4 separate regions of the Homo sapiens genome follow, and all the other regions are linked to region 3. Evidence: promoter capture Hi-C in human tissues and cell types (Jung and others, 2019). All regions are on one chromosome and are shown on one strand. The core of a region is centred on a gene start or on the middle of the fragment in contact, and the rest is flanking DNA. Distances in the headings are between cores, read along the strand shown. Region 1 overlaps LINC01697 (long intergenic non-protein coding RNA 1697). Region 2 has its middle 92 kb from the start of LINC00161. Region 3 holds the start of ADAMTS5 (ADAM metallopeptidase with thrombospondin type 1 motif 5). Region 4 has its middle 100 kb from the start of HEMK2.

Region 1 (6,489 bases), core at 1,899-4,398, 1.1 Mb before region 3:
GTGGGAAATTGTCTTCCATGAAACTGGTCCCTGGTGCCAAAAAGGTTGGAGACTGCCAGTAAATAACATTATTGAACTCTGTGGCTGTTGATACTCTTTTCCTAGTCTCTTCAATATAAGAAAGTTTTTCTTCTGAGTCCCTTGGTTGCTTGCTCCTCAACCTTTTCTTGTTCTCTAGAGATAAATGTTTATCAATGTTTTTTCTTGTTGGCCTCCAGAGTCTCATAATTTCAAGCATTGCTTTCCAGCAGGATGCATTTGCACCATGCACCATAAAGCTTAGTTATAGCTCAGCTCTAACATTCTCCTATATTTATTTATTTATTTATTTATTTATTTTGGAGATGGAGTTTAGCTCTGTCTCCCAGGCTGGAGTGCAGTGGCACAATCTCTGCTCACTGCAACCTCCATCTCCCAGGCTCAAGCGATTCTCCTGCCTTGGCCTCCTGAGTAGCTGGGATTACAGGCACATGCCACCATGCCTGGATAATTTTTGTATTTTAATAGAGACAGGGTTTCACCATCTTGGCCAGGCTGGTCTCGAACTCCTGACCTCAGGTGATCTGCTCACCTTGGCCTCCAAAAGTGCTGGGATTACAGGTATGAATGACCATGCCCAGACTAAAGTTCTTCTAATTTTTATATGTTTTTATGATATTTCCAGGATGTCCCATAGACATTTTACATTTAAAATAACTAAACTGATCACCTTTGTCTCACACACTGAACCCGTATTTTTGACATCCCTATTTGTATTCACGGCATTAATCTTCTTTAGTCACCCAGATTTGAAATCTTCATCATCACAAACACCTGATTTCCCTTCATTACTCACGGATAACTAATGTCTACCTCTTACATTTTTCAATATAGTAGAATCTATTGAATCTATTTCTTAATTTTTACCTCAATTTTCATCACCCTAGATTAGACCCTAATTGCCACCATGATGACCACCTGCAATAATCTACCAGTGAGTTTTATCACATCTTGAAGACTGCAGAATTTTGACAGTTAAAGATGGAGGGAGGTATTATATACAAAGGGCATATATTTTGCTGAAGATCTAGGATTCACTTTAGAATCTTTAAACAGTTGTACTGGGAGAGGGTCACACAGGTAGAAGAGTAATAAGATTTGAAATGCAACTTGGAATAAGATCTTGAATCCCAGACTATTGAGAAATATTCACAAATATGCTTCTCTTCCATTTTATTTTTTTCTTTAGTATCCGTAGTACCTACTAAAATGCTTTGCATATTTTAGATGTTCAGAAAATTCTTATTTCAACAAACAAAAGTATTATAAGCATGTTAAATTACTAAAATGCACCTTGATTTATTTCTTTTAAAAGTATGTAGGACACATAAACTATCATTTTGCTTCTACAGTTCATCTTGTATTTAAACACAATAAAATATCAATTTTAATGTTTTTCTTAATTATTCACTAAGTGTCATATATACATATCACTGAATATATTACAGACATACATGTATTGTATATGTAATATATTAAAAGATAAGGATTAATTGAAGGGGCTTATCTGGTGCTAGAGTTTTGCTTTGCTTTTGAATTCTTATTTAATTCTGTTCTATTTACTGAATGTCCATCTCTGCATAATATTTGAAAAGCCTCCTGAGTTAAAAATAGTTAATTCTGGGAAAGAGCTCAGCTCTTGGTATTTAGCCATATTATTCATCTTATATGGCTGATACATTTATCATGCGTTGATTCAAATACATGCAGCTTTTAACTTTTTGCAGAAACTATAAGGTCATACATCACAGATTAATATTCTTCTCATGCCCTCCCCCCACATTCGTACACAAAGGTCTCTTGTGGTTAGTGATATTAATCCATTCCTGTGGTTTTGCAGTCAAGAGGAATATAGTGCAGCGTGCCTCCTCGTTTAAAACAAAAAGGCTTACGGTGTTCTTTGGCTTTATGCTGCTTGGCTTTCGCCAGAGGACAGCATCCATGAGAGGGATTTGCTTTGTTTTTCTAATTATCAGCAGCTGGGTGAAACAGCTTCCAAAGGGGGAGAAAACAACACAGAGAATTTTAAGCCATGCTACTAACAGGTGTTCCCAGGGATCAAGTTCTTAAACAACCCTAAGAGTAAGATGAGATGCACTTTGTTGAACTGTTGCTGATGGTAGAGGGAAAATAATCAGGAATTTGCATACAACAACTCATTAAGTCCCCTTCCCAGTATATTAAATAGACTTAATTTTTCGAAAGGCAATTTTGGATAAAGATAGTGAATGGTGTGCTGATATGAAATGACTACACAGCATAATTTCATTTTGCCTTGGTTTGTTACTCCTCCTCTCCTTGCCATATCTCCAATATAAGCCCCCCCCACATACATACATACACACTCAGATGTGTACACACTCATGTGAGTGCACACATATTGCATATTTACTGATAACATTGTCCAAGCTGCTGTGATGACATCCAGGGTCATTCACCTACAGTTTTATGCAATTATAAATAAAATAGAATTCAAAAAGAGCACAAGAACATATTGTGAAATAGGTGAGATAGCTCCGTGGGCTAATCCTGAATGGCGAGACTCATCAAATTATTTAGATTCTATCTTGAACTTTAAAAGCTGGTATAAATCTTAGTATGAAAGATTTAAGCAAAGAGAGATGGGTACTGGGTAATATAACTGCATGAAAGTATTCTTAAATAAATATAAGCCTATCTCAAGTTTATAGAAAAATAACAATCCCAAAGAGGTTATCCCTCACATAAAGGTTACAGTTTTAGCAACCGGGGCATTCTACCAGAGCTTTCAGGAGGTGATTAAAGTAGACTTTAAGCTTCAGTCACTTGCTGGGCTCTTTCACCAGCATGTGAAAATTTGCCACCTCATGGTGACCTGGAGTTTATCAAAGGCCAGTCAGTGTTAGAGAGAGAAGTAATGGCAGTAAGAGAGAGGATCACAAGAACAGTTAAGCCAAGACACTCAGTCTGTAGGCTCACGTTTCTTCCACTCCAGCACACTGGAGGAGCTACTCCCAGAAGAAGGCAAGGAAGAGACAGCTCTGAGCCAGACCTTGCTTAAGACAACTTCAGCAGCCTTCTGTGACCATTTGAGCTTCAGCTCAAATCCAGGCTGGTGTAAAAGGAGAAGTTGATTTTTACATTGAGTTTACATTAAAATTTAAAAGGTATAGATTTTAGTAATTAAAAGTGCCAAAACATTTTGGATTCTGCTCAAATGGCACTGAAGGTTAAGAAAGGAAGATTGATGGAACATAGCTGAAGGTAATGATCACAGAAAAATAAAATCACTGAGTGGGAATACTAGACCATGATTCTCTCAGGTGGATGACAGCGAACTGGCTGTCTACTGATAAAACTTGATATAATCTTAAAAAATTCCTGAAATAACCCTCCCCTACCTCTTCCCATTACCTCTTTAACATAAGTGGAAAAATAAAAAAAGACTAAAAAACTGCCTGCTTTTCTGGGCAAAGGCAAAATCTGTATTTAAGAGTGTTAATTATGACTCAATGACTAGATCTGAGTTCCACATCATTCCCTTTTTAATATCATCAGCTGTGTCTTGGCACTCAAGTTTTCTACGAGTTTGTATCATATGCAAATGTATTCTTTATTTCAGTTTTGTCTTTTCCTGTTATTTTTATTTTAAATTAACAAACTAGAAAGACAAAATATAGTTTACTATCCCCAAAATGTATGCCCACTTCTGTTATTGCTTTACCGGTTTTTTCTCTTTAAAATTATTTTTTAGGGTGAAGGGTTGTTACTGGTGGTAGACAGTATCATGGCACAATTGCTAGTAAAAGCTATACTTTTGGCTTTTAACTAAAATCTATGCTTAAACAAATACTATTTAAATAAAAAGATTAACTTTCTCAATAGATATGTTTTCTATACAATTTGAATACTTTCTTTGTGTATAGGTGTCATCAATAGGTAACATTTATATCAACAAATTATTATCATTTACTAGAATTTCCTGGAAATAAAAATAATTTTTAAAGACTTTAACCTATCTCTGCTTTACAAAACAAGCTGTTTATTAATATAAGAGTTCAGGACAAATATTTCTGAAAGAACTAAACATTATGTTGGTTGACCTACAGGTTCTCACCTACAGAGGGAAGCTGAGCTACCCTAAGCTGGAGAAGGGTGACTCCCAAACTTCTCTTTACTATGTAACATCTTTACTCTCTCTTCCAATTGCAGCTTTTTCCCTATCAGAAAACTAGGTCTCCTAGACTCTCTAAATTCAAATTCTTCACTCCACCAAAACCTGAATAAATCTGAATATAAACATGTCTCTGCAAATGAGTCATAAATAATCTTGCGTGCATCCATAGGTATTTTAAGACACCCTAACCTAAGCACATTACAGGTGCAGTGAGTAGCATGGCTTCTATGACGAAGTTGGCAGAGCCAACAACTCACATTTTTTACTCATATTAACATCTGTGTTCACAATACGGCATTGAATATTCATATCTGCCCGGCTTTTCCTATCTCTAGAAGTTTTCCAACCCCTCTGCCCTGCTGTACTTTGGCCATTTCTAGTTGCCACTCGAAGTTTTTCAGTCTTTGCAATTTTTATTTTTCTTTTGTCAGCATTTTCTTTTATCCCAGATCTTCCCCTCAGTACACAGATTTTTCCACTTATTTTTAGCTTTCCTTATCTTCTGAGCTCCAGCCCTTGCATGACTGTTTTTCTAGACTTTTGTTCAGTGGTTAGCTAACCGGGCCCACTACTCCTTTGGATTTTGGATCTTCTTGGTTAGTGAACTGAATGATTACCATGTTTTCTTTACTTCTGCTCTAATGAACTTTATTTGAACTACAGTCTTTAGTTCTCCTTCTGGCTGCCACTTCTGCCCTGGGAAAGACAACCATTACTTGAGAATTCTGGTTAATCAAAATGTTACCGTCCTTGAAAAATGGTCTAACATTAATGAATCTGACACCCAAATAGACACATAATTATATCTGCAACCTGGCTTTTGCAGAATTTAAAAATACAAATAAAGACTATGGTCGTGTTTTTTTTTTAAATTTTTAATTCAGTCAACCAAATCAAGGCTGCTTCCTTTTTCTTTTTTTTTTATCAAAAGGCTTGAGCTCGATAAAATGAACATGATTTTTTGCCAAGCAATTCTTTTTTTTTTTTCCCCTTAATTTTTAAGCCCATGGGTATTTCAAGGGAAATTCAACCCACATGTTTCTGATTCATTTACACTTAATTCATTAAAATATTGTTTTGTAAGAGTTATTTGATGTCCAAGGGCCTTATGAGTCTTTTTATATGACTTCTTATGCCATTTTTTTCCTCAAAAACAGGAAGTGGTATTTTGCTAAGAACTGAAACTCCAAAAGGGTTGAATTTCATATGAATCACATAAAGCACACTAAGATGATTGTATCTCTCCTGGGTCATCCTTGCTTTGAGGAAGCACCTGAAACAGTTACCTGCATTGACTATATGTTGTTAATGAAATTCCAATTTCTCCAACACAATTCTAAAATCTCCTAAAAAGGGAGACTTCCAAAGTCAATCTTTAAAAGGACACACAAAATGAATCAATTTAACTCAATATTCATGTGAATATAATGTTATTTATTAAGACAAAGTTTTATAGCAGAGGCATCCACCATGTGATAGCCTCAGGAAACCCCTACAGTCTGTTTATTTAAATCTAAACCTTCCTTCATTCCCTCATCTCACTCCAAGAAAGGAACTTTGGGTAAAAAGGGGCAGAGAAGGAGACTGCAATGGATTAAGCAAACAGAATGTGTGTGTGTTGGATGACAATAAGAAACACTGTAATGTATATCTAAGCTATGCTTTCTTATATAGAAGCAACAACTTTTTTAGCCAGAGACTATTTAAATAGCAGATGTGCACGATTTTCTTTGTGACAAAAAAAATTGGAATGCTTATGTAATGAGTCTGAACTTGCATGGATACACAGTTTTTACTAGCAGAGCACTGAAGTGTCTTCTTGAGAACGCTTGAGTTCAAGAGCAGCTCTGTGGTCCCTGAATGAAATCCAGAACCAAAGTCCCACCAAAGGGTTCTTCTGACTGGTTTAGTTTCCAGTGCAGGCAAATTCAATGAAGGAATCCGAATACCACTGAGAATAAGAGAACCATTTTGGATCAAATATTTGGCAGCTGAAATCAAAACTAGAAAAAAAATTATTAGGAAAAAAATTATCTGGGGTAAAAAGAAATGAGATTGGAAATAAAATTTCTTAGTAAAAGAACATAATGATGTGGAGAATGAGCAGAGGATGACAAGTCCTAGAAACAGAATGGATAAAGTACTTAAAGTAGAAGAGGAAGTTTTAAAAGAGAGAAAGAAACACAGTAAACTGTCAGAGGAAATACAGTGACAACTACTAAAGCTGAAGTTGTATTTACTTAAATCCAGAATACCTGGCTTACTTACTGGAAATATTCAAATTTCTAAATACA
Region 2 (6,462 bases), core at 3,127-5,626, 1.5 Mb before region 3:
TGAGGCAGGAGAATTGCCTGGGAGGCAGAGATTGCAGTGAGCTGAGATTGTGCTGGTGCACTCCAGCCTGGGCAACAGAGTGAGACTCCATTTTAAAAAAACAAAAACAAAAACAAAAAAAACCCAAAAACTTCCCTTGGCAAAAGGTGTGCCACTGCATGGTTTGGTTGCTTAAAAGTCATCTCCTAAATCCAACCCTGACTGAAAGAAATAGTGTAAGATGGTGGCTGTGCCAATGGCAGAGCTCTGTGGTAAGACGTATACAAAAGACATAGTGACCGCGGTTTAGATTATTCTCAGATGCCGTTTATGTCCAGCAAAGATAGCTCATGTATAAATGTCCGCAGTGTTCACCCTTAACTAGTTTAAATAGTTTTCTTTATTATGCTGTCTTTCTGATAATTTTAGATGTTCTTTACAATATTTGACATTCTCATTGATTTTTTTGTCAAATTGATGTGAATTTGGCAAACAGTCATTTAGAAGATTAGAAATTACAATGTACTGATTTCTTAAATGGTCCTTTATATGAAAGAATAAGCTTGGTTAGCAAGCAGATTTAGTAAGAAAGATCTGTAATCGCACTGGAGTTTTTTTTCTGCTCAAAGCATTTCCTGACACTTTCTTCTCTTTTCATCCATTTTATCATATGTTTTTTTTCTATTATTGTACCTGTGTGATTCATTGTATTTTTAAATGTCTATCTCCTTCTAGACCATTTTTGCATGAGGATTACTATTTTAAGAGTAAGTGTTCTACTGAGATATGGTAGATAATGCATATTTTTAGATTATTTTTAATAAATATATTAAAACGACTATGGAATGAATAAATTTAAAAATACTTAATTTTTAGTATCCCTAGAAATTAATAATCACCACTTTCTTTTCGTGAGAAAGCAATATTTTGTGAAATGAAGGGAATAAATCGCTTAGTTGGTAAAGGCTTATATCAGATCAATGGCAGAGGGAGAAAGGAAGCATTCAGGAGTGAGAGGGAATTCCAGCTTGTTGCAATCTCACCACTTGCCAGCTGTTCTATGATAATTGATCCTTAAACAACCCAGAGAAGTATCTGGTCTTTAAGAGAAGATATTTGTCCTCCATTTTAAGGATACAGAATCTGAAGCACAGAGAGCTTGATTCATTTGCCCCAAACAACACATCTCATCCTGTGTAATTTGAGTTTGAATTCTCATCTCATAGGAGAATTTCCTTCTATCACTCCGCTACCATCTCATAAGCAAATAGATGAGGCCTGTAGTTCTCTACCTTGGCTGCATATTATCATGACTTGAGGAGCTTTTAAAGAATACTGATGCCCGAGTCTAACCTCCCAGAAAGTGTAATATAATTGTTCTGAGGATGGAAGCCTAGGAATCTTCTCTTTTTTTATGTTTCCTGGGTGATTCTAAATTGTTACAAATGTTGAGAACCACCAGATTAGGACTTAACGTTCTTGCAATTTGTTTTATTCTTTGTATCTGAGCAAGTGTATTTATTTTAGATTTTTTAATAGAGCTTTTACATGAAATTCACAAAAAATTAAATTTACCATAATTTGAATGAATCAGAGTGACTTCTTTATTGTTTTGCAGAATAAGGCAGGATGTTTCTTATTAAGTCAGCTTTATTACGTGGGGTCTATAATTTAAGATCATAAGGTTAATTGTGAGTAAGGAAACAAAGTGTTAGCAGTGTGAAGGGTAAGGAACCTTTTCAATTAAGGAACCTTTTCAGTTCTCTACGCCATAACCTTGGAATCAGTTATTAGTGGTCTGGCTTATCACTGGAAGATTCTTGAGACAACTGCAAAAGCATGTACAGTTGACCAGGGCCTTGAGCTGGTCCTGGCTCCCAATCATCTAAGCATTAGATTGGAGGTGGTTCTTGGCTTATTGCATTCGTTTGAAAGATGTATTCTCACATCAGAATGCTTTTGTCTGTGTTTTCCTCTCCAGGTTAATGTGTTTGGAAGTTATACTGTGGTGTTTTGCATTTTAAAGTGTATCTCTGATGACAGTATTTTCTATGAGAAGTTGATCCCATGACTATGCCTTATTGTACATGAAACTTACATGTCCCCTGAAGTACCCTGTCTTCACACCACTGCTTACCACCACTTTTATTATATGTACTTTATTTCCTAAGTACTTTTATCCTTTTTGTTTATGTCTTTTTCTGTATAATTTCCCCTTTCCCAACCTATGTCTTAGGCCTACCAGAGATTTTTGTTATGTCTGTTATGAGTCTTATTCATCCTTGGTGTGATCTATAGGACTAAAGAGGTAGATTGCCCCTAGACTTAATATCAAATTCTTTCTGTTTACAGTTAATAGTGGTTTTGTGTATTAAGGAAAATACACACCTGAGATTTAGATTTTAGAAATAATGTTCATAAAAACTAAAATTTAACAAATGATGATGTTATGACTCAAAACAATGTGCTATGAATTAAGCTTTTTAAAAAGTCAATTTAATATGTCCATTTTTAAAGAAAAACTCAACAAAATTTGTTTATCAAGCACTAAACGCTTAAGATATTAGCTATTAGATGCTTAATAAGATGACATAAGACAAATCTGATTCATGAGTTTGTTGAAAATATAAATGTTAACATTTTCAAAAGCTTTATTTTGTAATAAAAATGTTATAGCTCTTCAGTATGAAAACTCACGTTACAAACTAGCCAATAAATTTGAATTACAAAGTTTTCTGCATGTACTTATTTAATATCTGCAGTTGGCTATATTTTCTTATTTTTGCCTTGGGACCCTATAGATTTTGCACAGAGGTGGAAGAGTTGTGGTCTCACTGTAAAGAAAATGCAGTTCTTCATTTTTCTTTCCCTTTCTAAAGGAAAGGAAAACCTATGTGTTATTTTGAAGTCTTCAAATCTGACTGAGGCCATTGAAGGTTGGTCAAGAATGCTGAGAGCAGAGAACCCTGCTTCTAGGACCTGGGATCTATGCTTTCTTAGCATTGAACATCAACTCATTGATCCTTCTCCCCAACTTTCTTCCTTCTCTACTTGTACATCTGTAATAATCTCCCTTTATCTCCCTAATATTCATTTAATTCTTGTGCACTGCAACTGAGGTTTCCAGATACATGTGTATGTTTTATGGCATGTGAAAAGATTGATGTGTCATCTAATTGAAGTTTGTATCATACAAAAGCTCTATTCTTCAACCTTATTTTTGCTGTTGCTATTACTATTTTTTTTTGAAACTAGATCAGCGATGTTGAGATTAGCTTTGAGCACTGGTTGTGAAATTCCTGCTGAGAAACCATAATGAAAATACAACTTCAGAATATAAAGTACTAGAAGTATTAGAAGTATGTCTGTAATGTGCTACCAAAAGGATTACACATGCATACCCTTGGTTGTATTGTTGTTTCTGAATTTTTGGACAGAATTGTTTCCTAGCAGCATTTTTCTGAAATTGCTTGACTTTTATTTATGTAAAGATTCCTGATTACATAGGATCTGTAAATGATATGTTGCACTTTTTTAATCCTTTGGAAAATAATTACAAATAAGCAGTTCATTGTGACCTTATTGGCTGCACTTGACTTGGGTTAATGTAGAGGTAAAGATGAGCGATAAGAGAAGAATCAGCCACTTCCATAGTAGGTGAACAGAGTCATTAGACAATATTGATAATTAGACAGAGTTATTAGACAATTTTTTTCCTTTTACAGTGTCCACACTGTATGTGTGGTCCACAGGGCAAAAGGCTATAACATCTCACAGGACATGTGTGGTTGGTAATTAAAAATTATTCGTAGAGCAGACATCATCTGATGAGAAAGCTTTATGGAGAAAGTGGCATTTAGTTTGGAAATTATAGCTAGTTTGAATTTTGATAGGTAAAAGTGCAAGAAGGGAGACAATAGTGAGAATAAAAAACAGCAGTGAATATGGAGTCAGAGAGGTGGAAAGGCCTTGGAAATTGTTCACTTAGAATATGAGAAATGTATGAACAGGTTGCTTTGAAAGATGAGGTTGGAAAAGCAGCTGTTGAGGACTGTGTTCCTGGAGATGATATGCTATTTTTCTGCTAGTGGAGTTTAGGAGATGATTTTTAGTATAAAATCAAAAGCTTGAAAGAGTTTATCTGGAATTTATACATGATCTAGTCCACCTTCCTCACTCAGAGATGGAAGTGGCCTTGTTGCTGATTAAGAACAGGGTATTGGTATTAAAGGGAAAGACCAGACTCCTAATATTCACTCCATAATTTATTAGCTCTGTGAACTTAGATGGATTACCTAACTTTCCTAAGCTTTGTTTTCCATATCTGCAAAACAGAAATATAAGGTTTATTGTGAGAATAAGAAAAATGATGCATGTAGTGTTTAGTGTAGTGTTTGGAATAGTAAATGCTCCCAAAACATTTGCTATTATTATACTGGTGCTATTGTTATCATTTGTGACTTCAATGCTACAGGCTCTCATCTTTCCTTGCTCTGTTCTTACAGGAATTGCATAAATTCGCTAGAATCAGAAGTCAGTTGTCCTGATCTCAGAACAATTTGGTGTGTACAAAGTCCAAGGTTTGAAAACTCATCAAGAAGTCAGCATCCTGCAAGAATCAGCCACCCATGCCACACTTTCTATAGTAACTTCTGTTCTGCATCAGACTACATCACTCTGGCTTTCTGGTATGCGGATTTGTATTAGTCCATTTTCATACTGAGACCAGGTAATTTATGAAAAAAAGAGGTTTAATTGACTCATGGTTCCACATGGCTGGGTGGGTGTCAGGAAACTTACAATCATGGCGGAAGGCAAAGAGGAAGCAAGGCATGTCTTACATGGCAGCAGGGGAGAGACAGAGAGAGAGAGAGAGAGAGAGGGAGGGAGAGAGAGCGAGCAAGGGAAATGCCAGACACTTATCTAACAACCAGATCTCATGAGAACTCCCGCACTATCATGAGAACAGCATGGGGGAAACTGCCCCCAGGAGCCAATCACCTCCCACCAGGTCCCTCCCTCGACATGTGGGGATTACAATTCAAGATGAGATTTGAGTGGGGACACAGAGCCAAACCATATCAGAATGGTAGGAGTAACATAGGGGTAGCAAGATTGCATCCTCAAACTCTTGTATTCTGCCTTTTGAATATTGTTGACAACGGTATTTTCTATAAACCCTAAGCAGCTGTAAATCTAAAGGAATAAGGCAAACATGTTTTTCCTTTCCAAACATTAAAATACTTTTATTAAGTCATCCAATGAGCACTTTCTAGGGGAAAAAATAGTTTATGTGTGGTTTGGATGCTAAGCATTGACTCAGTGTCAGGCCTATGAAGGAGAAGGCCAAGCTATGCCTGCTGACACACAAGTAATCATGGAAAAAATAAAGACTGTCCCAAGTTTGTTAAATGAAGCCATACGTTTGGAAAAGCATGATATGCCAAACTCTTATATTCTTCTTTTGTTGTTCAAGATTATTCTCTTTCTTGCCCATCAGAATCATGGTTTTTCCTTCCAATACACAAATGTTCCCAGATCTCACTGTTGCCATAATCTTCTCCCAAGTGTTCTATATTTTGTACAGTGCTAGTCATACATAATATTAAGCAATACTTGAGAAAGCAAGGCATTTGAAATGACTATTTAGGCTAGGAATTTTATAGAGACTACATGTAGTTGTTCTTCTTACTTTAGGGATCACTTTTATAATACAAAGAATGACTGCAATATAAGCTTTGAAAGACTGACTCACTAAGGAAACAAGACAGGTTTGGAAAAATGGATCCCTTGCCATTGACGCACTCTGGAGAACTCTTTAAAAAATGGTAATCTGAGAAATTTAATTGCCACGTAACTGTTCACATAAAACTGATACTATCAGTAAGTGGACCAAATTAAATATTCTGTGAAAACGTTGCATTTCACAACCAGGTGTTTTGATTTTTTGAAATGAAAGAAAAAAAAAGGAAGTCAGCTTTTAGCTATGTGGTGCAGTTGATCTTCTCTGGAAAGTTATTCTGCAGATCTACCAAATGAATTAAAGATGAGAAGACAAATGTAGGAGATAAAAAGGCAAAGAAGAGATGTTTATCTGCTGTGTACCACTTTTGTGATGGTGGATCCCTTCATCTTTCTGTGCCTCATTTTTTTCTTATTTCTACATAGAGGGCACTATTCCAGGCCAGTGCTCTGGGAGGAATTACCCAGAATCCCTGTAGAAGCCACTACTGATGTCAGCTACAAGAGGAAGGGAACCCAAGTGGACTTCAGCCAGAACAAAGCTCTGTCACATGTTGGAATTTTACTGAACTTGAACAAATTATTCTTCAGAAAAAGTATTTTAAAGTCAAAAGACTCCTAGATGATTTCTAGGTCTTTTGCAGCATTAACTTCCTTTGAATCAATGCCTTCAATGATTATTTAAAAGAAAAGAAAGAAAAAATCAGAAAGTAAAGAAATGGATTTAGCTAGTAACCTTTA
Region 3 (6,678 bases), core at 26-2,525:
GCTCTTACCCCTACAGTAGAAGGTAGACCTTCTAACCATAAGTCGTCGGGTTTTCCTTCTCCCTTCTTAGAATGATAATTAGAGGAAACAAAGAGGTCAGAGGAAACGAGTAGCAGTGATAATGTCACCCGCGTACTAATAAGCACCAATCTTCCTTCCGCCAAAAGTATTCTTTTTCTTCTAAAAGGAATTTCTGAGAATGAAGGTAGGTCAAGGCCTATGGCGATAAGTGGTTGCTTTAGAAGAGACAAAAACAGATATAGGAATTTATTATTAAAGTATCATTTAAGCAAAAAATAAAAGTATGAGCGCAAAATTTTAAAATCTTTCAGGGAAAAAAAATGAGCGGAATTCCCTCTAAGAGTTAACTCTTTCTCGCTCTGCCTTTTTAGAGCAAAGGAAGTTCCAGTGGGCTGGGAGTAAGGGACAGATTGTGGACCCTGACGAAAGGCGTGCTGGAGAAAGCTGGGAGCCCGCCGTTCGCACACAAAGCTGCGGAGTTCCCAAGCGGCGGGCGTTCTCGCCCCGGGGTACCGCAGCGCGCCAGGAAGCGCCCTGGGCTCTCTGGCTGTCCAGCCGCTCTGCTGGTGGCCGGGAGAAGTTAGTCACCCGGAGCCCGAATCCGGCGAGCGTCAAAGCATCAAGAGGCTGGAGAATGGGGAGGGAGGAAACCGGGTGCCGGGACGGAGGGGAGGAAGCGAAGGGAACGCGGTGGTTAGGGGACGCACGGGAAGCTGAAAAGCTCTGGCTGGTGGATGGAGTTGCACGGTCTGCGAGGCCAGAGCGCACGGGTGTGCAAAGGGGAAAAACTTGCGGCAGGAACTTCCCACCGAGGGCGAGAAAAGCAGGCAAGAAGGAGGCAGGGAGAGACTTGAAACGTCTCAATAACTTTAACCAAAACACCCGTTCAGGAGATGAGGTAAGCCAAGGTTAGCCAACCCCAATTGGTTGTGAAATATCAGACAGACCCGGAGCCGCTGTGGCTTTAAAAGTGGCCAAGGAAATCTGTTTTTCTTGCCCCATTACTTTTTATTTTCCCCTCTCCCCTCCTACCACCTCGCCGGGTCCCAGTCCCTTCCTCCTACTTCGTCTCCCTTTCCTCGATCACCCTCCTCTTTTGCCCTCCCCCATCTGATTAGGCGCGGACTGGGAAGGGTGGGAGTGGTGGGGGAAGCTCTCCCTTTAAGAGGCAGCGTGCAGTGACGAACTGTTGAAATTGCCATTGCAGGATGGCATGCCGCTATAAATTCATTGTTCCACCTCCTCGCATCTTCACAGCGCTCGCGCTGCTCTCGGCGCTCGCAGCTGCCGACTGGGGATGACGGCGGGCAGGAGGAGACCGCAGCCGAAGGGACACAGACACGCCGCTTCACCAGCTCGCCTCAGGCTGCCCCCCTGCATTTTTGTTTTAATTTTTACGGCTTTTTCCCCTCTCTTTCTTCCCTTCCTCCTGGTCCCAGCAGAGCCAAGGAAACCCACAAAATAAGAAAGGAAGTGGGCCCCGGAGCTTGGAACCTCCACAGCCGGCTTGTCCAGCGCAGCGCGGGGGCGGGAGGCTGCGCGCACCAGTTGCCAGCCCGGTGCGCGGTACCTTTCCTTACTTTTCTTGAAACAGCGATCGTGCCTGCATTTGGTGGTTTTTTGGTTTTTGTTTTTTTCCTTTTCCCGTATTTGCTGAATCTCCACTATCCGACTTTTTTTTTTTAATCTTTTCTTTCCCCCCCCCCCCACCCCACCTCTTTCTGGAGCACGAATCCAAACATTTTCCCAAGCAACAAAGAAAAGTTCGCACGCTGGCACCGCAGCCCGGACAGGCTGGCGCTGCTGCCGGGCCCCCCTCCCTCCGACACTTGACTCAATCCTGCAAGCAAGTGTGTGTGTGTCCCCATCCCCCGCCCCGTTAACTTCATAGCAAATAACAAATACCCATAAAGTCCCAGTCGCGCAGCCCCTCCCCGCGGGCAGCGCACTATGCTGCTCGGGTGGGCGTCCCTGCTGCTGTGCGCGTTCCGCCTGCCCCTGGCCGCGGTCGGCCCCGCCGCGACACCTGCCCAGGATAAAGCCGGGCAGCCTCCGACTGCTGCAGCAGCCGCCCAGCCCCGCCGGCGGCAGGGGGAGGAGGTGCAGGAGCGAGCCGAGCCTCCCGGCCACCCGCACCCCCTGGCGCAGCGGCGCAGGAGCAAGGGGCTGGTGCAGAACATCGACCAACTCTACTCCGGCGGCGGCAAGGTGGGCTACCTCGTCTACGCGGGCGGCCGGAGGTTCCTCTTGGACCTGGAGCGAGATGGTTCGGTGGGCATTGCTGGCTTCGTGCCCGCAGGAGGCGGGACGAGTGCGCCCTGGCGCCACCGGAGCCACTGCTTCTATCGGGGCACAGTGGACGGTAGTCCCCGCTCTCTGGCTGTCTTTGACCTCTGTGGGGGTCTCGACGGCTTCTTCGCGGTCAAGCACGCGCGCTACACCCTAAAGCCACTGCTGCGCGGACCCTGGGCGGAGGAAGAAAAGGGGCGCGTGTACGGGGATGGGTCCGCACGGATCCTGCACGTCTACACCCGCGAGGGCTTCAGCTTCGAGGCCCTGCCGCCGCGCGCCAGCTGCGAAACCCCCGCGTCCACACCGGAGGCCCACGAGCATGCTCCGGCGCACAGCAACCCGAGCGGACGCGCAGCACTGGCCTCGCAGCTCTTGGACCAGTCCGCTCTCTCGCCCGCTGGGGGCTCAGGACCGCAGACGTGGTGGCGGCGGCGGCGCCGCTCCATCTCCCGGGCCCGCCAGGTGGAGCTGCTTCTGGTGGCTGACGCGTCCATGGCGCGGTTGTATGGCCGGGGCCTGCAGCATTACCTGCTGACCCTGGCCTCCATCGCCAATAGGCTGTACAGCCATGCTAGCATCGAGAACCACATCCGCCTGGCCGTGGTGAAGGTGGTGGTGCTAGGCGACAAGGACAAGAGCCTGGAAGTGAGCAAGAACGCTGCCACCACACTCAAGAACTTTTGCAAGTGGCAGCACCAACACAACCAGCTGGGAGATGACCATGAGGAGCACTACGATGCAGCTATCCTGTTTACTCGGGAGGTAGGTCCAGCCGGGATGCGGGGGTCCCAGCGCTGATATCAGGAGGTAGGTAGAAGGGAATCTTGCTGGTGGCTTTGCTTCTCCCTCAAACCTCCTGCAGCTGTGGATGTGTTTAACTGCTTCTTGCAGGAAATCCAACCAGCCTTCAACTCTGCTCCTGTATTCACGTTAGCCCCGCAGAAATTTTTGCCTTAAATGCCAAGACTTGCTTAGGTGATGATGAAGACCCAGTAGTGCTGCATGTCATCTAGTCTGAGGTGTTGTGGCATAGGAACGTAAACATAAGAAGGCACAAGGATGCTTGGGGAAATGATACAGTTAAATGGGGAAAAGGAAGGAAAACAAAGTTGCCTTTGGGATCATGGGTCTTCTTCTTTCCAGTGAAAATAAAATATAACCTTGTCCCACCTAATGGAAAGGGCTGGATGGTTCACTCACGGTACTCACTGTTATCCGATGACCTTCTTTTGTAAGTGTCCACACCTTTTTACTAGAATCCCTTCTGTTACACAGAGGATGAGAAAACTTTCTCAAGGACTCTTTTTCCAGGTTGGATTCCTAATGGAGTTCTTACATGTCCACCTTGGAATCTCAGTTCCTGGGAAGGAAGGAATGTGGGCGGGCCAGCAGGGTACAGAGACCCAATCAGATGAGAGGACAAACTTGTGAGGTTCCTTAACAACTCCTTTGCTTAGTCGACCAGTGCGTCGCAAGCACTGCCCAGGCCAACTCCGCCGCCTAGGGAGGGTCACATCCCGTTTGCGTGTTTGGGTTTTGGATGAATATGTTTCCGAAGCCCCAGTGCAGAAGATCTGGGCGAAGAGTCAAGACAGAAGGAAGAAATGTTTTCCCAGCATTTCCCCCTTTTAAGAAAGATGGTTATGGGGAAGCAAAGAAATGGATCTTTAAGGCTCAGAGGCTCAGGGAGGAACGCAGTATCTATTTACACAGTATTTGACCACTACGTTAGTGTGACATTTACACAAAAAGTCTGGGTTGGTTTGGGGCCTGGCTTGCGCATAGTTCTAAGCCTCAGTTGTCACAACTCGACTCTGATTGGCAGTTTTAAGTTGTGCCTCTTAAATGCCTGGTAAGAATTGACTTCTAAAGCTCATTCTTTAAGTATTTGAGACCCATCCAGAATAGATTAAGGATTACAAACTTTGAAGTATTATGTAAAATCATGGTATGAAATGAAGCAAACAGAACAAGGATAGGAAATTAAATGATGGATTGCAGACTTTAGAATCACACAGCTTCGCTACCTAATTCTTCTATTTTTACTAAGGCACCCCTGGTATGAAGGAAAAGTGTTGATAAATTTGGAGTAGAGAAACACTTGTGGTTCATAGGGTGGACATTAATGTAAACCACATGTAAACAAAGATGCTGGAGGGCGGCAGTTTAGGGAGAGCCAAGCAGCGCGCAGTGCTGTGCACAATGGAAAACATTTTTTTCCTCATTAAGTGATTTTCTGGAAGCCATCCTTTAATTCCTCTGCACAACATTAGTCTTTGAAGCGGTAGAACATTCATTTGTAGCCTTCTCTGCAAAATGAAGTTCTGTAAAACTATCCATTTCTTGTTAGGTTTCCAAGCTCTTTTTTTTTTTTTTTTTTTTTTTTTTTTTTTTTTTTTTTTTTTTTTGGTAAGCAACTTTCCGTGTCTGGGGTTCCTTGCTCTGCTACATCACAAGAGGATGCCAAGAAGGAGGCTTTGGAGAGTTTATGGAAGGAGGTTCTCTAAAGGAAGAGGAAGAAATACTTTTGTAAGCATACTGCGCCAAGGAGTGGGTCATTTTAGTAGTTCACTTTCATTTTTAAACACAAATCCACATTTCATAATTTTAAAATAAATAAAAATTAATAGAAGGTCTGTTACTTCCTACCTCCTGCCCCATAACATTCCTAATTGTTTCCCAGAAAACAGGAAACTACTCAGTGATTCTCAATGATTTGTCGATTACTTTTTCCGAATTTGTTTTTTGTTTGGATAGTTAACTGTCCCTATTTTTCCAAAGTCTGAAACTTAACAGCATATTTTAAATAGATACAAAGCAAGGGACAAATAAATTAATGGTCCATCTTAATTTTTGTCAGTATTATAAGGACATGCATTTTTCAAACTAGTCTACACATGGAAAATATTTCACATGGGCCCTCTCTGGTCTCCTTGCCAAGCAGAAGCATACTTTTAGGAAAACAAATTTCATTTGTGGTTGGCCCTGTAGTATACACATCTAACTTCACAAGAAGCAAATATTTGAAATGCATGTGTATTTTCAATAGATGCGCCCAATTTAAAAGAGTGTTACTAATTAGGGGGTTGAAAAAAATTTCAAGGCATTTATGCAGCATTCATTTGAGAGTATTTCACAATGCAAAGTGAACTTTGCCTAATACTTCAGAGCATGAAAAAAAAAAAGAAGTCTGGAGGAGAGATGATCTGAGGTCTTCCATCTCATGAAAATCAGATTATCTTAAGGCCCAAAGAAAAGCTTTCAGAGCTATTTCCTTTTCAATGAGAAATACCCAGAGTTGGCACCAAGATTCTACTTTTACAACTCTGTTTTGAATGTAAGAAGTGCGTTGCTTAGCAGCCAGACGCCAAGCTATGAAATCCATGTTTTGATGGGCTCTGAGTCCTGCTCAAATTTAGGTCCAGATGTCTTCTCCTAAATTGCTTGTTTTTTAGGCATGAAGCGAATGTACGAGGATATGTTTTCTACCTCTGTTTACTAGCTGAGGCCACCTTGAAAGTTGCATCTGGAAGTCAGCAGAATAGAGCTAGTAACTCATTTATCAAACGATCACACTTCACTGTCAGGACTGTACCCAGCACTCCAGTACTATTCTAATTAGAGAGAGTTAGCACCAGTCAATTTCCTGGCATAAAAGCTGTTTTCATTCTGAAATGGCACTAATGCTGGAATTCACACCACTTCTGCCATCAAACAGTAGAAATCCAATCTCCCCAGGATTTAGCTTTGCTTTCCAGAATCCTTTCCTTGTTCTGGACGTCCTCTTTTATTTCAAGATAATTTCTTCAAAGACAAACTCTTACAGTCGTTTTTTTTTAGACCATTTGCTCTTTAGAAACAAAAGCCTACCTGCTTGATAACAAAATAGGAAATTGTTTAATATCCCTCCACCCCTTCATGAAAGCAGCAAAAACCTTACTCTTTCATAGATTGAAACACTGAATTAAAATCGAACCAACTAAGAGATTGTGCAATATAAAAAGATAATTCCCTTTCATTAACTATCAATATGCCAGTTGATAGATCACTGTCTCAGCTAAAACTCTGTACATTCTGCCTTAGATTGCTGGGACCGGGTCTCCCCACACGGCATTTCTCCTTTACCACGTGGCTCCTGGCTTGATTCTGACAACAGGGGGCAGTAGAGGAAGACCAGAAGTTTGGAAGAGGGAGAGGGATGGGCTTTTTCTTATTGGCTTGCTGCCTGGACTAATTCAGTCACATATTTGAGCTGAAATCTCATTTAAAGTCAAAAGTGAACCCTTGTCAAGGAATCAGAGCCTATAGGTCAATCCTAATCAATAAAAGGATAAATAACTCAGAAGTGGGGAGACTGGTAGCAGA
Region 4 (7,239 bases), core at 4,428-6,927, 1.8 Mb before region 3:
CACCCAGCTAATTTTTGTATTTTTAGAAGAGACAGGGTTTCACCATGTTGGCCAGGCTGGTCTCTAACTGCTGACTTCAGGTAATCTGCCCGCCTCAGCCTCCCAAAGTGCTGGGATTACAGGCATGAGCCACTGCACCTGGCCCAAGAATTACAATTCCTTAATGGGGTATTAGATTAAGTTTTAATAAAGATAACAGACTTGACCTATGGGTGAATAATGTTTTAGACTTTACGAAACACTTAAAAATTAGATCATTTTGTTTTTGCAACAACCTTGTGAAGCTGAGAGATAAGATGATATTGTACCATTTCACAGGTTGAGAAGATTGAAACATGGCGGTGTGATTTGCCTAAGTTATGAAGCCAGAACCAGAGCTTAGATCTCTTGGTCCTGATCTCATTTCCATTCAGTTAACAGACATTTAACAAGCATCTAGTCACTGGGTTATGCACCAGGAATCAAAGATAATGCAAAGTTCTTGTCCATAATGAATTTGTTGTCTAGAGGTAGATGGGTGCAGCAAGTGTGAAAGACCACAAGGAAAGTGTGAACAAGGAATATAAACAAATATCTTAAAATTCACTTTTAAAGTTTTCTCAGATCAAATAAGACATGAGTATGAGTTGACTGATAAAATTTTGAGTCAGGCGTCCTTTTAGAAGGACTAAAATATGCTAATGGTAAGGAATATGGTGTATACGGGAGATGGTCATAAATTTTGAGTCAGAAATTTAGGCTGGGCTCAGGAGGGTGGTTCTTCTGGTCTCATTTGAATTTGTTTATGTGTAGGGAATGACTGAGTGTCGGCTGGGGCTATGAGGATGATTTGACTTGCTCTAATGCCCCTTATTCTCCAGCAGGCTAACCTGGGCATATTCACATAGTGATGACTGAGGTGTAAGAATGTAAGCAGAAATGCGCACCTTTTCAATCCTCTTCTTGTGTAACATTTGCTGATATCTCATTGCTACAAGAAGTTACAGCACTGAAGCAAGAGTCAAAGTGGGAATATACTTAATGTTACATGGCAAACCTTGTGGATATAGGGAGAAGTAAAGAATTGGGGACATATTTGTAATTTATCATGGGGTAAGTGCTAGCAGTAAAAATGCTGTGTTAAGGAACATGCCTAATTTTAAAGTTTGATACATATTGCTGTATTGTCTTCCTGAAAAGTACCAAACTATATTACAAGTTAAGCATCCCTGATTTAAAAATTTGAAATCAGAAAATCTGAAACTTTTTGAGTAATGATATTGTGTCTGGAATTGGTGTGTTCTTGGTCTCACTGACTTCAAGAATGAAGCCGCGGACCCTTGCGGTGAGTGTTACAGTTCTTAAAGGTGGTGTGTCCGGAGTTTGTTCCTTCTGATGTTTGGATGTGTTTGGAGTTTCTTCCTTCTGGCAGGCTCGTGGTCTTGCTGGCTTCAGGAGTGAAGCTGCAGACCTTCGTGGTGACTGTTACAGCTCTTAAGGCAGCGCATCTGGAGTTGTTCGTTCCTCCTGTCTGGAGTTGTTCATTTCTCCCAGTGGGTTCATGGTCTCACCGGCCTCAGGAGTGAAGCCGCAGATCTTCGCGGTGAGTGTTATAGCTCATAAGGCAGTGCAGACCCAGAGAGTGAGCAGCAGCAAGATTTATTGCAAAGAGTGAAAGAACAAAGCTTCCACATTGTGGAAGGGGATCTGAGTGGGTTGCCACTCCTGGCTCTGGCAGCCTGCTTTTATTCCCTTATCTGGCCCTACCCACATCCTGCTGATTGGTCCATTTTACAGAGAGCTGATTGGTCTGTTTTGACAGGGTGCTGATTGGTGTGTTTATAATCCCTGAGCTAGACACAAAAGTTCTCTAAGTCCCCACTAGATTAGCTAGACACAGAGCACTGATTGGTGCATTTACAAACCTTGAGCTAGACACAGGGTGCTGATTGGTGCATTTACAAACCTTGAGCTAGACACAGGGTGCTGATTGGTGCATTTACAAACCTTGAGCTAGACACAGGGTGCTGATTGGTGCATTTACAAACCTTGAGCTAGACACAGAGTGCTGATTGGTGTATTTACAATCCCTGAGCTAGACACAAAAGTTCTCCAAGTCCCCACTAGATTAGCTAGACACAGAGCACTGATTGGTGCACTTACAAACCTTGAGCTAGACACAGGGTGCTGATCGGTGCATTTACAAACCTTGAGCTGGACACAGGGTGCTGATTGGTGTGTTTACAAACCTTGAGCTAGACACAGAGTGCTGATTGGTGTATTTACAATCCCTTAGCTAGACATAAAGGTTCTCCAAGTCCCCACTAGACTCAGGAGGCCAGCTGGCTTCACCTAGTGGATCCTACACCGGGGCCGCAGGCAGAGCTGCCTGCCAGTCCCGCGCTGTGTGCCCGCACTCTTCAGCTCTTGGGTGGTCGATGGGACCAGGCGCTGTGGAGCTGGGGGATGGCGCTCGTCGGGGAGGCTCAGGCCACACAGGAGCCCACCGCCGTGGGGGGAGGCTCAGGCATGGCAGGCAACAGTTCCCGAGCCCTGCCCCGCAGGGAGGCAGCTGAGGCCCGGTGAGAATTAGAGCTCAGCGCCGGCAGGCTGGCATTGCCGGGGGACCTGGCGCACCCTCTGCAGCTGCTGGCCTGGGTGCTAAGCCCCTCACTGCCCGGGGCTGGTGGTGCCGGCCGGCCGCTCCGAGTGCAGGGCCCGCCAAGCCCATCCCTACCCGGAACTCGTGCTGGCCCGTGAGTGCTGCATGCAGCCCCAATTTCTGCCCGCGCTGCTCCCTCTACACCTCCCCACAAGCAGAGGGAGCTGGCTCCAGCCTCGGCTAGCCCAGAGAGGGGCTCCCATAGTGCAGCAGTGGGCCGAAGGGCTCCTCATGCATGGCCAGAGTGGGTGCCGAGGCCGAGGAGGTGCCAAGAGCGAGCGAGGGCTGCCAGCACACTGTCACCTCTCAATACGATGCCACAAGTATATAATTTCTTACCTGGCCTTATGTGACAGGTCGCAGTCAAAACTTTGTTTTATGCACAAAAATACTAAAAATATTATTTAAGGTGGGTGCAGTGGCTCATGCCTGTAATCCCAGCACTTTGGGAGGCCGAGGTGGGCAGATCACCTGAGGTCAGGAGTTCGAGACCAGCCTGACCAACATGGTGAAACCCCGTCTCTACGAAAATTACAAAAATTAGCCAGGTGTGGTGGTGGGTGCCTGTAATCCCAGCTACTTGGGAGGCTGAGGCAGGAGAATTGCTTGAACCCAGGAGGCAGAGGTTGCAGTGATCTGGGATCTCACCATTGCACTCCATCCTGGGCAACAGAGCGAGATTCTGTTTAAAAAAAAAAAATTCTTTCAGGCTATGCGTATAAGGTGTTTAAGAAACAAATAAATTTTGTGTTTAGATTTGGGTCCCATCCCCAAGATAGCTTATTATATATATGCAAATATTCCAAAATCTGAAAAAAATCCAAAATCCAAAATACTTCTGTTCCCAAGCATTTTGGATAAGGGATACTCAACCTGTATCAGGGATGTCTGTGTGAAAGAGATCATTATTCTACACTGTTACCAGCACTTGCGAAAAAACATTTTACATACTGGTCAACTGTTAATTTAATTTATAGAGAGATTGGCCATTTAAAAAAGTAATAGTAGTTTTATTGAGATATAACCACTGAGGTATAATTATTGAGATAATTCAAATACTATACAAATCACTAATTTAAAGTGTACAATTCAATGGCTTTTACTATATTCACAGAGTTGTGTAACCATCAGCACAATCATTTCTACAACATTTTTTATCACCCAAAAAAGAAACCCCATACTCATTAGCAATCACTCTCCGTTTATCCCCATGACCACTTAAAAATTTAAACATTTAACAGTTTTCTTTTCATGGGTTCTTTATATATCAAGGATATTAAAACTTTTCCCTATTACATATGTTATAGTTATTACTTAAGGTTTTTTGATTATTCGTGTCTCCTTTTATGACATGAAGAAGTTTTTCCTTTTGAATAGGTATAATTTGTGGGTTAGTGAAGGCACAAAGTAATGCATTTATAGTTAACGTTTCTGAACTATATGTGTATATTGAATGTACTGGATTTATTGCATTTAGCTAGGAGAGGAACCTAAGCCTTGATTGTTCCCTGAAGATATAGGTCCATTCCTTTTGCCTAGAGTGCCTATAAATGTTGAGATATAAACAGAAACATTTTGGGCACAATATATTTTCCTAATATTATGTGTATATTATAGTATTAGGTGAACCTTGACTGCTGGATGCAGTTCTGTTCTGTATGTGTCAACTAAAATAATTAAAATAAAGAAGGGAAATGACCAAAGGAATAAAGTCACTGTCACTTGGGAACACACTGCAAAGATTAAGACTATTCAGTTTTGAAAAGTTAAAGGGGAGAATGGCTAGAATGTGATTCATGCTTATGTTGATGATTAAGCAATTTTTGCATCTTGAATGAAATAGTTTTTTAAGTTAAGAATTATAGGTGGCCCCAATGAAACTGTATAGTAAAGGATCAGCTCAGCAGATTGTTCACATCCTGCACAATCCAAAGAAAGGATGACCCTTACTCTGGAGGTAACCTCTAAGCCCTTAGAATATCCTCCCTGATAACAGTGTCTGTTTACCTAGAAGCCTTGGGGCCAGAAAATCTATGCAAATAATTCCATTATGTCTGACATTGGGCCAGACAGTATCAATGTGACCACTAGAGGGACTGGAGACTGAAGATCAGCCATGTGGGTGGATAACTATACCCATATAAATGACTCCCAATATAAACTCTGGCCTAAAGGCTTAGGTGAGCTTCCCTGGTTGGTAATACTCTGTGCATGTTGTTCCACATTGCTGCTGGGAGAATTAAGCTGTTCACACAAATTCACTGTGAGAGGACAACTGGAAACTTGTATCTGGTTTCTCTTAAAATTTGCTCTATGTACCTTTTACCATTGCTGATTTTAATCTGATTCCTTTCACTGTAGTATTACTGTAACTGTGAGTATCACAGTTTTCTGAAGTTCTGTGAAATCCTTCAAGATTATTGAGCCTGAGGGTGATCTTGGGGAGCTCTGAACACAGGAACATGCATTGGGAACTCTGGCATGGCGTCATGGGTAGCTATATGTCTCATTTGCCCAATTACTCAATGATCCTTCTGGGAGAAGTAATAAGAATGATAGAGATGGATGAACAGGTTGAAAGCCTCTAAAGTTGATATAGAACAGAAGCATACAAAGCTATCTTCTAATTTTCAGGGAGTACTTTGAGTTGATAGGTAATTCACCTGCAGGAAGAAGTCAAATAATAAAAGAGTGCTTTTAGATTTGATTTTATGAGTTGCCTCTTTCATATCTGCTGTCCTGGCCCTGGGTGCATGTACTCTAAGCAACTTGAGATAGAGGCTTTGAAAAAAACCTGAAAAATGAAGATAATAAAGCCATATTTGTAGAAGTTATTTAGGAACCAGAGAGAGAAAGGAAAATGCTTTTGGGAAACTCTTAATATCTATAAAGATGATGAGAGAACTCTTCCTGTCTCAATGAAAAGTCTTCACTGCAGGATAAGTGTAGCCTATCTGGGAGCTATGGTGATAAATGAGTGATGTCCCTGAGCAGTGACATCATAGTCACCAAGGAGGGGTGGTGGTCAAGAGCCAGAGCAGCAGGGGAAGATAGAGGCCACCAGGAGGGGGGGTTGAAATAAAATAGAAGTGCAGAAGAACTGTAATGGCTGCTTAAAGGAATTCTTAAGTCTCCCATGACGTCTAGGGCGTTGGGACTTGGATTTGAACAACTTTATTTCATAGACATTGGGTCTGACTACTTTAGTGAGCAAAGCTTTAGTTCACTATTATGGTGGTCCCTTTGAATCTCAAGGTTAGAATGAACTTTAAAAGTTGTCTGGCTGGGCGCGGTGGCTCACGCCTGTAATCCCAGCACTTTGGGATGCCAAGGCGGGCAGATCATGAGGTCAGGAGATGGAGACCATCCTGGCTAACACGGTGAAACCCCGTCTCTATTAAAAATACCAAAAATTAGCTGGGCATGGTGGCTCGCGCCTGTAATCCCAGCACTTTGGGAGGCCAAGGCGGGCAGATCATGAGGTCAGGAGATGGAGACCATCCTGGCTAACACGGTGAAACCCCGTCTCTATTAAAAATACCAAAAATTAGCTGGGCATGGTGGCTCGCGCCTGTAGTCACAGCTACTTGGAAGGCTGAGGCAGGAGAATCACTTGAACCTGGGAGGCAGAGGTTGCAGTGAGCTGAGATTGTGCCAATGCACTCCAGCCTGGGAGACAGAGTGAGACTCCATTTCAAAAAAAAAAAAATTGTTTAGGTCAGTCTTCTAAAGTCACCCAAGCAGAACCCAGTGATGTCTCATTAGCTACTCATAAGCTCATAGCTCATGGACCTGAGTTATAGTGTTTGCAATGGGAATCCAGTCTTTGTTGGTCAATGAGACTCTTCCTGCTATGGGAGGTTTCAGTTTGTGGGGTTTTTTTTGTTTAAAGTGACACAGATGATGGGTTGGCAGAGGGAGTTATATGTCTAATAAAAAATAATGTAGCAACAAAAGAAATGCTCAGGAAACAGCAGCATTAATCTCAGGTGTAGATGGCTTTTTTTTAAAAACAAGAAAATTCTTACAATAAACTCTTTTTGCATACTGAAAGAGGAGGCCAGGAGCTAAGTCTCAGGTGAGTATTTGGAGTTAAATTCCTGCATCTTGTAAAGAAATAGACACCTTGGAATTGTCCTTTGGTGCTTGAGAAGTTGAGAACTGGAAGAAGAGAGATGATAGAAAAGATCTAGAGAGAAAGTTTCTGGGAAACATGGCAGGAGAAAGTGACCCAAGGAGACAGAAGATCTCACTTACCCATTATATGTTTGTGGTAAGATGTTTGAAATGTACTCTTAGCAACTTTGAAATATGCAATACCTTTTTATTAACTGTACTCACCCTGCTGCTCAATAGATCTAAAAGCCTTATTCCTTCTGCCTAACTGAAGCTTTATACCCTTTGATCAACACCTCTCCAACACCCTCCTCCCAACCTCTGGCAACCATCATTCTACTCTCTATTTCTAACAATTTGACTTTTTAAAATCCCTCATGTAAGTGAGATCATACAGTATTACTCTTTCTATTCCTGGCTTATTTCACTCCTCATGATATCCTCCACATTCATCTGTGTTCTCACAAATGACAGAATTTCCT

What was found. Contacts are between HindIII fragments. The study calls those that stand out against the background at their distance.
Region 1: a contact is called between a fragment that was not itself captured here and the fragment with the promoter of ADAMTS5 in region 3, in 1 of the 25 tissues and cell types used here (aorta).
Region 2: a fragment that was not itself captured here is called in contact with the fragment with the promoter of ADAMTS5 in region 3 in 1 of the 25 tissues and cell types used here (dorsolateral prefrontal cortex).
Region 4: a contact is called between a fragment that was not itself captured here and the fragment with the promoter of ADAMTS5 in region 3, in 1 of the 25 tissues and cell types used here (dorsolateral prefrontal cortex).

Annotation. Positions count from the first base shown.
Region 1 is chr21:28,065,119-28,071,607 of GRCh38, reverse strand. The region is part of intron 1 of LINC01697 (long intergenic non-protein coding RNA 1697); the gene reads right to left. Among named protein-coding and RNA genes, the nearest start is that of LINC01697, 20 kb to the right of the region's middle. The HindIII fragment of the contact is 3,184 bases long and covers 1,557-4,740 here.
Region 2 is chr21:28,444,495-28,450,956 of GRCh38, reverse strand. No RefSeq gene overlaps it. Among named protein-coding and RNA genes, the nearest start is that of LINC00161, 92 kb to the left of the region's middle. The HindIII fragment of the contact is 3,666 bases long and covers 2,544-6,209 here.
Region 3 is chr21:26,961,685-26,968,362 of GRCh38, reverse strand. ADAMTS5 (ADAM metallopeptidase with thrombospondin type 1 motif 5) reads left to right here and starts at 1,275. Exons shown (of 8, transcript NM_007038.5): 1 at 1,275-3,075. The coding sequence starts at 1,972. LOC124905050 reads left to right here. Exons shown (of 3, transcript XM_047441063.1): 2 at 393-919; 3 at 1,279-1,707. The coding sequence ends at 1,707. The HindIII fragment of the contact is 10,779 bases long and covers 1-6,678 here.
Region 4 is chr21:28,779,294-28,786,532 of GRCh38, reverse strand. It overlaps a transcript of HEMK2 not described here. Among named protein-coding and RNA genes, the nearest start is that of HEMK2, 100 kb to the left of the region's middle. The HindIII fragment of the contact is 3,832 bases long and covers 3,762-7,239 here.